Regions from separate parts of the Homo sapiens genome. Here regions 1 and 2 are each linked to region 3. The links are contacts of gene promoters, found by promoter capture Hi-C in human tissues and cell types (Jung and others, 2019). All regions are on one chromosome and are shown on one strand. The core of a region is centred on a gene start or on the middle of the fragment in contact, and the rest is flanking DNA. Distances in the headings are between cores, read along the strand shown.

What was found. Contacts are between HindIII fragments. The study calls those that stand out against the background at their distance.
Region 1: a contact is called between a fragment that was not itself captured here and the fragment with the promoter of UTRN in region 3, in 2 of the 25 tissues and cell types used here (mesenchymal stem cells and spleen).
Region 2: a fragment that was not itself captured here is called in contact with the fragment with the promoter of UTRN in region 3 in 1 of the 25 tissues and cell types used here (spleen).

Annotation. Positions count from the first base shown.
Region 1 is chr6:144,119,165-144,123,503 of GRCh38, forward strand. All of the region lies in intron 3 of LOC105378036 (a long non-coding RNA gene), which reads left to right. Among named protein-coding and RNA genes, the nearest start is that of SF3B5, 26 kb to the left of the region's middle. The HindIII fragment of the contact is 3,257 bases long and covers 600-3,856 here.
Region 2 is chr6:144,139,601-144,143,642 of GRCh38, forward strand. It overlaps a transcript of STX11 not described here. Among named protein-coding and RNA genes, the nearest start is that of STX11, 8.9 kb to the right of the region's middle. The HindIII fragment of the contact is 4,534 bases long and covers 1-3,683 here.
Region 3 is chr6:144,283,937-144,287,839 of GRCh38, forward strand. UTRN (utrophin) reads left to right here and starts at 1,399. Exons shown (of 75, transcript NM_007124.3): 1 at 1,399-1,885. It overlaps LOC124901418, which reads left to right and starts at 2,562. Exons shown (of 1, transcript XM_047419641.1): 1 at 2,562-3,903. The coding sequence starts at 2,735. The coding sequence ends at 3,343. RefSeq lists an enhancer at 769-838 and silencers at 969-1,028, 1,239-1,338. The HindIII fragment of the contact is 2,482 bases long and covers 1,116-3,597 here.

The DNA of each region.
Region 1 (4,339 bases), core at 978-3,477, 160 kb before region 3:
TATTGTCCTTCTGTTGCCTAGACTTCAGGATTAATTCCTTCCTCAAGCAGGGGACAACAAACGGGTGTTCCTTCTCCTATGTTCAGGTGTATATTGGCCCCTGCTTTTGCTAGAATGTCTCTCCCTAACAAGGGAGTGGGACTTTCAGGCATAATTAGAAAAGCATGTGAAAAGAGTAAAGTTCCCCAGTCACAACTTAGTGGCTGGGAGAAGTATCTAGTGACTGGCTGTCCTAGGACCCCTCGGATGGTGACAGATCTGGAGGACAGTTGTCTGGGACAGGAGAATAAGACTGAGAAGTCCATGCCAGTGTCCAGGAGGCAGTTAACCTCCTGGCCCTCAATGGTCAAGCATACCTGGGGATCTGTGATGGTGATGGCATGGGCTGGCGCTTGCCCCGGCCACCCTTAGTCATGCTGCTGGATCATCTGGTTAGTGGCTTCTGACTCAGAGGACCTTCGTCCTCTGGGGCAGTGGGCCTTCCAGTGATTCCCTTGACATAAGGGGCATGAATGAGGGGGCGGCTTATTTTTATTTGGACAATCTTTTTTAAAGCATCCTTGTAGACCACACTGGAAGCAAGCCCTATTAGGCATTTGATTTGCCCAGCTTTTCCCTTTTCTAGAGCCTCCAAAGTCCTCTTGCCTGAGAGCCATGACTAAAGCGGTGGCCTTTTTTTTAATCCCGTTTGTCCCGTTCTGCCTGCTCCTCCTGATCTCTATTATAAAAAACCAAGGTGGCCAAGTTCAATAGGGTTTCTAAGTTTTGCTCTGGGCCTAAGGCGGACTTTTGAAGTTTTTTCCTAATGTTTGCAGCTGACTGAGTGATAAACTTATCCTTTAAGATAGGTTGGCCTTCAATAGAGTCAGATGACAGAGAGGTATGCTTCCTCAATGCCTCCCTTAGTCTCTCCAGAAAGGCAGTAGGATTTTCTTCCTCTCCCTGTGTTATAGTGGACATTATTGAATAATTTATAGGCTTTTTCCTAGTTTTCCTTAGTCCTTCTAGCATGCAAGTTAACAAATGTCTGCGGCACCAATCTCCATGTTCTGATTCTGTGTCCCAGTCAGGGTCTACACTGAGAACTGCCTGCTGGCCTGTGGGGAATTGTTCTTTCCTCTGTTGTCATCCTATCATTGACCTGACTGAGATATCAGAGATCGCCAAACTCTCGGGCTGCAGTTATGGTGGCACTTCTCTCATTTGTGATTAGTATCTGATCCAGCAGTAACATTATATCTCTCCATGTCAGATCAAAGGAGTGTCGTACCTTTGTAAAACATCAATATAGCCATCAGGGTTATCTGATAATTTACCTAGGTCTATTTTAATTTGCTTCAAATCTGAGAGAGAAAAAGGTACATGCACTCCGGCTGGGCCGAATTCTCTTCCTCCCACGACTTGGAGGGGGCATAATTGGGGAATATTGGCACTTTTTGGTTCATTGTTTACCCCTTTGTCTATCTTCTTTTGGACCGTTTGGGTTGAAGGGGGGTCCTTATTTGTTGGGAAAGGAGTCAGGGGGACACCGGGATAGGGAGGTAGACTCTGAGGGCTTCCTGTAGGGCATAAATCACACTTTTTACATAATTGCGAGTTGTCTCTTAATGAAAAGAAAGTTTGTACATATGGCACTTCACTCTATTTGCCTTCTTTTCTACAAAAGAGGTCTAGCTGTAAGATGGTGTTATAATTTATACTTTCCTCAGGAGGCAAGATTTCTCCCCCTTGAAGAGAATATCTTGGCCAGGCGGTACTGCAGAAGAATATAAGTTTTTTCTTTCTTAGCGTCTGAGGGTCAAATTGGTCCCAATTCTCCAGAATACATCTTAGGGGCATTTTTGCCTTGGGGGGAAAGTTTCCCATTGCTTTGGAGGTCCCTTCATGGTCACCAAAAAGTTACTGGGGGTTCTTGTTCTTAGAGCTCCCAAGATGGTGGCAGGCCGCTTCCAAGATGGCAGCAAGCCTCTTGTTCTCTGACTTGGGGTTCTTGGCCTCACGGATTCCAAGGAATGGAATCTTGGGCCATGTGGTGAGTGTTATAGCTCTATTAGAAGCCGTGGGTTATGGAAGAGAACCGTAGAACCCAGCAACTACTATTCAGTTTGCTTAGAATGAACCTGGGCACTTAGCCGTGCAGGAACAATGGCAAGCTTTTAGCCAGATTGGGAGTGGCAATGGGCGTCTCGCTGGATCATAAGCACAGCGGAAACCCTGCTGGATCCGGAGGGGTGGAAGTCAGCGGTGGGTCTGCGACAGTGGCAAACAGCAGTGGTGGATGGTGAGTGAAAGCTCAGCTCAAGCCGTAACAAACACGGACCAGAAGAGTGTGCAGTTGCAAGATTTAATAGAGTGAAAACAGAGCTCCCATACAAAGGGAGGGGACCCAAAGGGGGTTTCCCTATCTTTCATTTTTTTGATAACAGCCATTCTAAGAAATGTGAGGTGATATCTTATTGTGATTTCAATGTGATGATGATTAGTGATATTGAGTTTTTAAAAAATATATCTATTGGCCATGTGTATGACTTTTTTACGAGAAATGACTGTTCAGGTCCTTTATCTATTTTTAAATTGGATTATTTGTTTTCTTAGTATTGAGTTGTTTGAGGTGTTTCTTAGCATCTATTGTTTGAGTTCCTTGTATATTTTGCATATTAACCCCTTATCAAATGTATGGTGTGCAAATATTTTCTTCCATTCTGTAGGTTGTCTCTCCACACTGTTGATATTTTCTTTGCTGTGCAGAAGCTTCTCAGTTTGATGTAATCTCATTGATCTATTTTTGCTTTTGTTGCCCCTGCTTTGGAGGTTATAGCCAAAAGATCATTGCCCAGAACAATGTCATGGAGCTTTTGTCTTCTGGTATCTTCTAGTAGTTTTACAGTTTCAGGCCATATGTTTAAGTCCTTAGTCCACTTTGAATTGATGTTTTGCATATGGTGTGAGATAAGGGTCTAATTTAATTCTTGTGCATGTAGGTATCCATATTTCCCAACGCCATTTACTGAAGAGACAGTTCATTTTTCATTGTGTTTTCTTGGCATCTTTGTCCAAAATCAATTGAGAGTAAATGTGTGAATCTATTTCTGGGCTCTCCATTCTGTTCCATTGGTCTAAGTGTCTGTTTTTATGCCAGTACCATGATGTTTAGATTATTATAGCTTTGTAGTATATCTTGAAGTCAGGTAGTATGATGCCTCCAGCTTTGTTCTTTTTGCCCAGGATTTCTTTGGCTATTTGGGGTCTTTCATGGTTCCATATGAATTTTAGGACTGTTTTTTTCTATTTCTCTCAAAAATGTCATTGGAATTTTGATAGGAATTTCACTGAATCTGTAATTCACTCTGGGTAGTATGGACATTTTAACTATATTAATTCTTCTAATCCAGGAATGTGAGATATCTTTCCATTTATTTGTGTCTCCTTCAATTTTTTTCATCAGTGTTTAATAGTTTTCAGTGTACAGATCTTTCACCTCCTTGGCTAAATTTACTCCTATTTTATTTTTTGATGCTACTGTAGATGGGATTGTCTTTTTAATTTCTTTTTCAGATAGCTCATTGTTAATGTGTAGAAACACTACTAATTTTTGTATATTGATTTTGTATCCTGCAATTTACTGAAACTTTTTTTAGTTCAACAGCTTTTTCTTGGTGGTGTCTTTAGGGTTTTTGGTGTATAAGATTACGTTGCCTGCAAACAGAGACAATTTTTTTCTGATTTGGATGCCTTTTATTTCTTTCTCTTGCCTAATTGCTCTGGCTAGGACTTTTAATTATCCCACAGAGTTTCTGGTGGTCAGAAATCTGAGGGTGGTTTTGCTTGTTCACTGTTGGTGGTAGCATGCTACTGTGTGGCCTCTGGAATCCTATCATCTCCATGACTACTAGGGACCCTAGTTCTGAAATAGCATCTCTTATCATCAACTCTGGTCTACAGAGGAGAGCCACCACTCACCTCAATGACACTGGTGTCCTCTACCAGCAATTTCCTTATTGCCTTGATGCATAAGTCCTCCATACTCTTTCAAGAATCATATTTAGCTGATAAGTTTCCAGTTTCACATAGTAGACCCTGTTTAGCATGTACACTTTGGTGGGCCTTTCAATCCCTTCCTCCACTCTGCCTGGCAACTCTGGCACCTCCACTTGATTTAATAGGGGCCACTGCTCTTACAATCTCCTGAAGTCCATCCCAACTAGAAAAACTATTGGCTTGATTGATAGTTTATTTTCATTTCACCCATATATTTCACTAAACTTTCTTCTGGCTTAGGATTCAGCTGGAGTGATGTGTGATCCTGAGCTCTGATTGGTGTTCCAATTTTTCCCATAAA
Region 2 (4,042 bases), core at 167-2,666, 140 kb before region 3:
ACAGCCATAAGGAATTTATAGCTTGTTTATGTTTAAGTAACACTGTGTTTATATTACATTCAAGTAACACTGTGGTAGAAATAATTTGTCAACACTGGGTGCCATATCGGTTTTTTCTTGAAAAGGGGCCCACTCATTAATTTGCAGAGATGCTGTGCCAGGTCTGTGGAAGAAATAGGTGTGAATAAGTCTAGCACCCACATTCGCACTGTAATCAATTATGAATTCCAGTTTGCATGTGGACTTTTGTAAATGTTTCTTTGTGACTAGGGATACAGGGTTGTGGCAAAAGTTCCTGTTTCATAATTCACCTTTCTTCATCACCAAACTGTAGAAAAATAGGGTTTAAAGAAATCAGCTACAGCAGCCTGCTTTCAACACCCTGAGTGAGGCAAGGCCATGTTAGACCCTACCAAAGATCACTCCTCACACCTGGGGCACACAAGGAAAGGAGCGAGGGACTGACAGGAACATCCGTCAGCTTCTGCAAGGTCTCAAAAAGATCATCACCCACAGAGGCAGATGTCTCAAGGAAAGACTGTCCTTTGAATCGGTGAGTTCACTGCTCAGACTTCAACCTGTTTACTCTGCCATTTTTGGTCAATTCACATATATATATATATATATATATATATATATATATATATATATATATTTATTTATTTATTTTTTGAGAAAGAATCTCACTCTGTCACCCAGGCTGGAGTGCAGTGGCACAATCTTGGCTCACTGCAACTTCTGCTTCTTGGGTTCAAGCGATTCTCCTGCCTCAGCCTCCTGAATAGCTGGGACTACAGGCGCACGCCACCACGCCTGGCTAATTTTTGTATTTTTAGTAGAGATGGGGTTTCGCCGTGTTGGCCAGGCTGATCTTGAAATCCTGACCTCAAGTGATCCTCCCATCTTGGCCTCCCAAAGTGCTGGGATTACAGGCATGAACCATCATGCCTGGCCCAATTCATCATTTGAAACAACTTGTTTTTTTTTGGTGCCAGTATTGCACTTTCAAATTTTCTTCAGGGTCATGGAAGGTTGCTAGCAGGCTGTGGTCTGTGAACTCACAGAAACTATAAACCATCCGTGAAGAAGGAATGGGTCCATCTGAAGAGTGCCAAAGGGAAAAGTAAGACAAAGACATGGAGCAGCCTCAAGGGGATGAAATGGATGAAGGGGAGGAAGAAGAGAAGAAAGCCAGATCTCAGCCCCAAAGTAAGGCTTCTTGGCATGGAAGTATAGAGTTTCTAAATAGATGACACAAATTCATCTAAATGAACAGAATATGGCTATACAAATGTTTAATGTATCTGTGAAAATTACACTTGTTGAAAACTAATTATTCACATTCAAAACCAGTATTTCAAGGCTTGTGGCTAAACTAATATCTGTAAAAGGCATGGCTTATGTGTTATATTCTGTTTGTGCTTTTCCGTTTCACTTTTATCTGTTCTGCAGACGAAGGCAATGGTGCAAAAAGGAGTTTACCAGAAATGAGTATTGAGTAACAGTCTGATCTTAAAATACTTTTGCAACTTGTTATGCAAAAATCACAGTTGCAGAAAAATTGGTTTCCATAAAGAGCTATTAAGTGGATCAACTAGATTATCTCTAGATCAGATTTTTTAAAAACCCATTCTCCTTCACAGAAAACTTTTGTTCTATTTGTATACGTTAGAGCAACCAGTACATATCAAACTTCAGGCCTCTTACAAGTAAGCAAATATATCAAAGAAAAGTTTTTACTTAATTGAAATTTGGGTTAAAGTAAAGATGCAATAGTGTCAATTCAGGAATTATAGGCAGGACCACAATTTAACAAATACCAAAATAATACGATTTTTCGCCACATGTTTTCTACCCCTATTGGCGTATCAAGCTTGGAAAAAGAAATGATCTTAGTAAACAACAAGAAATTTGCTTTTCTGTGAGAGTTATCTGTTGCATTCTTTTCTTTTTTTAGTATTTTTTCTAAGCTTACCTTAAGTTCATATTGCCCTTTTGTGCAGATAACAAGATGAAAAAAATCATTTACTTTGGAAAGTCATTATTTTCAGTTTTGTTGTTGTTGTTGTTGTTGTTGTTGTTGTTGTTGTTGTTTTGAGACAGGGTCTCATTCCATTGTCCAGGCTGGAGTGCACTTGTGCAATAATGGCTCACTGCAGCCTCGAATTACTGGGCTTGGGTGATTCTCCCAACACAGCCTCCCGAGTAGCTGGGACTACAGACACCAACCACCACACCTGGCTAATTTCTTTGTATTTTTTTGTAGAGATGGGGTTTTGCCATGTTGCCCAAGCTCATTTTGAACTTCTGGGCTCAAGCACTCTGCCCACCTCTGCCTCCTAAAGTGCTGGGATTACAGGCGAGAGCCACTGCGCCCGGCCTCTTCTGTGGTCTCTAACATTGTTCTTGAATTATTAATGGTGAAGAACCTGGATTTTTGTGTTGCACACTAGTATTTGAGTCTGAAGTCTTCTGCTTGTTGTTTCCTGGACAGTGGACAGGAGGCTATAGGGTTCAGTCTATTCCTCTCTTAAATAGGGTTGAGTTGTGCACATTTCACAAATTTGTGATGAGAAATTAAATAATATACGACGATGTGAATATGGTGCTTAGCACATTGTAACCAAACAATAGTATTGGTTATCTTTAATATTGGTATCAGCATTATTAGGTTTATATTTTTTAATGATCTCATGTTTGCTAAAAATTGTACATTTAAAACAAGCTTCAAGGGATAAAAACTGTGTTGTCTTGTATGTGAGTAATGATGACTTGTTTGCAGTACTGAAACCTTTGCAGATTTCATCACATATCTAGAAGTAATTTAAGATATGCTTATTACATACTGAAATATTTAAAACTTTAACTTATTATATATTGAAATATTTAAAACTTTAACAATTAACTTGATTTTACTTTGTAAATTTACATTTATGGGATAAAGAAAATGTGGTATATAAACACAATGGAATACTATTCCGCCATAAAAGAATGAAATCATGTCATTTGCAGCAAAATGGATGGAACTGAAGGTTATTATTTTAAGTAAAATAAGCCAGACATAGGCAAATTTCACATGTTCTTACTCATGGGAGGTAGAGAGTGGAATGATAGATAGATACCAGATGCTGGGAAGGTTGTGTGAGTGGAAAGGGGGATGAAGAGAGTCTGGTCAAAGGGTACAAATTACGGTTGGATAAAAGAAGTAAGTTCTAATGTTTATAACAGTTCTATTGTTCCATTGTTGCTAACTATAGCTAGCAACAATGTATTGTTTATTTCAAATTAGCTAAACTAGGGAACTTGAAATGTTTCCAACATATGGAAATGATTAATAACTCAAGGTGAGGGATACCCCAAATACCTGGACTTGATCCTTACACATTCTATGCATGCAACAAAATATCATATGTACCCCACAAATATGTAAAATATTATGTACCAATTCAAAACACTAAAAGATTTCTCATTTATATGTTTCCATCAATTTATTTCTACATTTTATGTAGAAAAGCTATATGCAAAAAGATTTGCCTGTGAATCTGGGAATATATTTCTAGTCTGCGTGTACTGGAGAACAATTTATATGGCATACAGTCTGGTTTCTCCATAAAGCTAATAAGTGGATTGAAATAATGATATGATAATATCACTAGGGAACATTTCTGTCAGGATTGTAGTTATAAAATTTTCAGAGATGGGATTTGGAGACTATGCTCTAGCTACTAATTAAGAAGACTGTATTAGTTAAAGTCCCAAAGGGAAATGGATAGCATATTCAAATTAGGATAATTCAAGCAGAGGTTTTAAATAAGGGGTCTATTATAAAGATATGGACAGGGTGGAGGGGAGCTGTAATGGAACCTTTGACTGAGAATCACAAGTATGGAAAAGTATCTGAAACCAGGAAGGGAGAGAGAGACGTGTAGAGAAGACCACCTTAGAGGAATTGGGGCCTTTTGTTGAGGGGCATACACGAACTTCTATTTGGAATACATTTCCTGACCTCATTCCCTGCCCCTGTCCTCCTGCCAGTTTTCCT
Region 3 (3,903 bases), core at 149-2,648:
ATGAATGAAGTGAATGAATAAAATCATACCCATTTCAAGTTAATCCTTTGGATTTTATTTGGCTTATACGTAGAAAATCATCAAAAGGAAGGAAACTGTCCTAGAAACCTTACAAGGAAGAGTCTCTTTTGGGAATCTCCTACCTGCCCCCTCCCTGGAGCACTTAGGGATGGATGGGGGAAACTTTCACTATAACAAAAGGCGAGTAAACTCTTTCTGAAAATTAGTTTAAGGCCCCTAGTGGTTTAATCTTTACTGCCGCGTAAATTAACTCAAATATTAAGCCAGCAATAAACCGGCGCTCCAGTATCAACCATCCTTTTCTCTGTTAATACGAACTAGGAACTCAGGTTGCTGTTTTCTTTCCCCTCCCACGTGTGCTGATCGTGTAAAAGAATCACAGGAACACACGAGCAATGAAATGTGTAAATAAGAAAAATGCACACACATCACGAGCTCATTTCTTCCCAGATATTTTTTGGTCAACCTCTCAAGCTTGGAACAGGCTCTATAACAGATGTGCGTTTGTGTGTGCATATTGGAAAACAGAAAAATAAGGTCAGCGCAAACACTACTTGTAATACAAACTAATGTAAGAGAAAACTTCTTTTTCAATATTAACAACGACACTAGAGAAATAATGTAAAATAAATATACGGTTGGAACTAGGGGTAAAAAAAAAATCAGCAACGTCAGCAAACTGAGATGGGGTGAGTTGGAAGGCAGATTGGAATTTATCTCTTAAAAAAATATCACCCTAACTAGAGACCTGTTTTGCCTAAGGGGACGTGACTCACATTTTCGGATAATCTGAATAAGGGGAATTGTGTCTGCTCGAGGCATCCATTCTGGTTCGGTCTCCGGACTCCCGGCTCCCGGCACGCACGGTTCACTCTGGAGCGCGCGCCCCAGGCCAGCCAAGCGCCGAGCCGGGCTGCTGCGGGCTGGGAGGGCGCGCAGGGCCGGCGCTGATTGACGGGGCGCGCAGTCAGGTGACTTGGGGCGCCAAGTTCCCGACGCGGTGGCCGCGGTGACCGCCGAGGCCCGGCAGACGCTGACCCGGGAACGTAGTGGGGCTGATCTTCCGGAACAAAGTTGCTGGGCCGGCGGCGGCGGGGCGAGAGCGCCGAGGGGGAGCCGGAGCGCTGCAGAGGCGCGGGCCGGAGGGCTGGCGCTGATCTGCACCCTTCTCATCTGGAGAGCGGACCCCTGGCTGCCCGGAGGCGAGCCCCTTCCCGGGGGGTGGGGGCGGCAACGCGCGACCCAGCGGTCCTGCGCCCCACCCTCCCTCCTCCGCCTCCAGCGCTCGGCTCCAACAAAGGGGCAGGCCCGCAGCGGGGAGGAGGAGGAGGAGCCGCCGAAGGAGCGAGCCTCTCTCGCGCACAAAGTTGTGGAGTCGTTTTTCCTCGGAGCAGGGAAGCGGGCAGCAGCAGCCGGCCGCGGGCTTTCTCCCGCCGAGGGGCGAGGAGGAGCCTCTGGCTCCAGAAGCCGATTGGGGAATCACGGGGAGCGGCGCCCCCCTTCTTTTGGGTCATTTCTGCAAACGGAAAACTCTGTAGCGTTTGGCAAAGTTGGTGCCTGCGCGCCCCTTCCAGGTTTGCGCTTTGACTGTTTTGTTTTTGGCGGAACTACCAGGCAGGAAGATTGCACAAGTAAGGGGCGTTTTCAGTCGGGTGTCAATTTCTCTTTCTTTCTTTCTTTTTTTAAAATTTCGGTTCGTGTCTGCTTCTCCAAGCTTTATTTTTTTTTTTAAATACATCGCACCACCAAACTAACACTCGCACACACCCCCGCGGTTACTCCGTGTCAAACTCCTAGAGGAGCCCTTGGCCAGCTCGGGGTGCGGCGGTGGCGACCGGCAGGCGAGGAGGCCCGCGGGCAGCAGGTAAGCCCATGCATTATTGAAGCCTCGGGCTGGTAATGTGACTACAGCCCCCGAGGGAATGGGGCGGGGGCCGGGAGGAGGATGGCTCTTTCTGTGGTTCTTCCGCCTGGGATCGGCGTCCCGAGCTGCTTCCCAAGTCCCAGAGTCGAAGATGGGAGTAACTTTTGCGTGCCCTTTCCTCGGGGCCTCAGTTTAGCTCCCCGCGGTGCGAGAGAGAATGCCGGAGGCGTGGAGAGCTCGGGCGTGGAGGTCCTTGGGATCCGTACTAGTTGTGAACGATCCAAACTTATCTGACCAGCTCTGTGCTGCCTCCCTGCTCCCCTAATCTTCCTCCCCGCCGGGGTGACAGAGTCGCCCTCCGTGCATCGCGCGGTGCAGGGCGCTGGGCCAGTGATTTGCAAGAGGGGACGTGGCCTCTTAGGAGAGTCTGTCACAGACACCCGGGCCCGGGGAAGGCGGGGCTCCGGCGGTGTCCACAGGAGAGGGTGGGCAGAGGGTGGCTGTGTGGTCGGCGGCCAGCGGAGCGCTTCCCAGCCAGCCGCCCGGCGGGGAACGTGCTTGACCTCTGGGTGGTTGCTGCTCCCAAGGGTGGGGCTCCGGAGAGTGTGGCGCGATCGCCAAGCTCCCTGGCAGCGGCCCTGGAGAGACTGAGGGGACAGGAGGAGGGGGGCGCCCCATTGGTGTGTAGTCCCGCGCAGTCGCCGGCTCTCCTTTTCCGGACTCTGGGGATCTCTTGCTGCAACTGACAAGGTAATTCATGCCCCGCTTTGGCCCGGGGTCCGAGGCTGTGGTTGCTCAAGGCCACTTAAAAACCAACAAAGCACCAATTGAAGGCTGTGCAACTTTCAGATGGCAGGTTGTTCAAAGGATTTTTTCCTCCAAGCCTCAGATTATGAAAGGGACTCATTCCAGTGCGTTTTTCGAGGAGGAGGGAGAAAACGTTGCCCGACCTCCGAGAGAGCTGTGGGACCAGCACTTTATTTTACAAGGAACTGCAGAGCTCGGGTTCTAACTCCACGGCCCCGCTCTCTGAGGTGTTCAGGACAGGGCCTCCTCTTTCCCAGCCTTCAGGTCAGCCGGATCACCAGGGCCTTGCGGGCCAGTTCCCCCTGCCGCGGTTGGGAGGGTCAGTGCAGCGGTCGCCGCGGCCAGAGCGCGCGGAGCTCGGGGGAGGCCGGATTCCCTAGGTCTGAGCCGACCCTCCCGGCCGCCCGGCCGGGCGGCAGCGACCGCATCCATTCCTTTGTAAGTTGCACCGGCCTCAGGAAGTCGATCTGGGCCCTCCCGGTTCGTTGGCGGTGGGCGTGGGAGACGCAGCCTGCGGATAGCTCAGGGTCAGGGGAGAGGTGGAGGAATGCGAAGCTTGTGGGTAGTTCTGCGGTGACGGACAGGGTTGGCGTGGAACCATTCCCCGCCCCTTTTACCAGCCTTTATGGGACCGATGAGACAACTCTTTAACTCTCCTTTGGGTGTTTACCTAAAATTTATTGGCTCTGTAAACAGTATTAATCACAGTAGTATTAACCTTCCCTGGAGCGCTTCCGAGTGTAAATGGCAGTTCTTGGCACTCACCGTTTTCTTTTACTGTGTTTCAAGCAGAGCAGCAAACTCTTGTCCGCTTGGCTTCCTTTTCTACTATCTCAATCGTTCCTAGGTTTTGGTTCCTATAGTAAATTAATGAATAGTGTTTGCATTACACAGCATTTCCATCATAATGCACACTGTTGGATATATATGTGCTATATACATAAAATATAGTACAAAATAAAAATTATATACATATATTCATTGTATAATTCCTAAAATCTTAAAAAATTGAAACATTAGTTTTGTCTTTAAGGCTGTCACCTTATGTTTATTTTTTAAACACCTTATGTTTATTTCATACACTCTTGCTTGGTGGTCCATATGACAGCCGGAAGCGTTCTGAAGGGAGAGTTAGTGAATATCGACTTGACTGGATTGGTTTCAGTAAGAACATCTGGCTTTTACAGAATATCATTTGAGGGAAGGGAAAT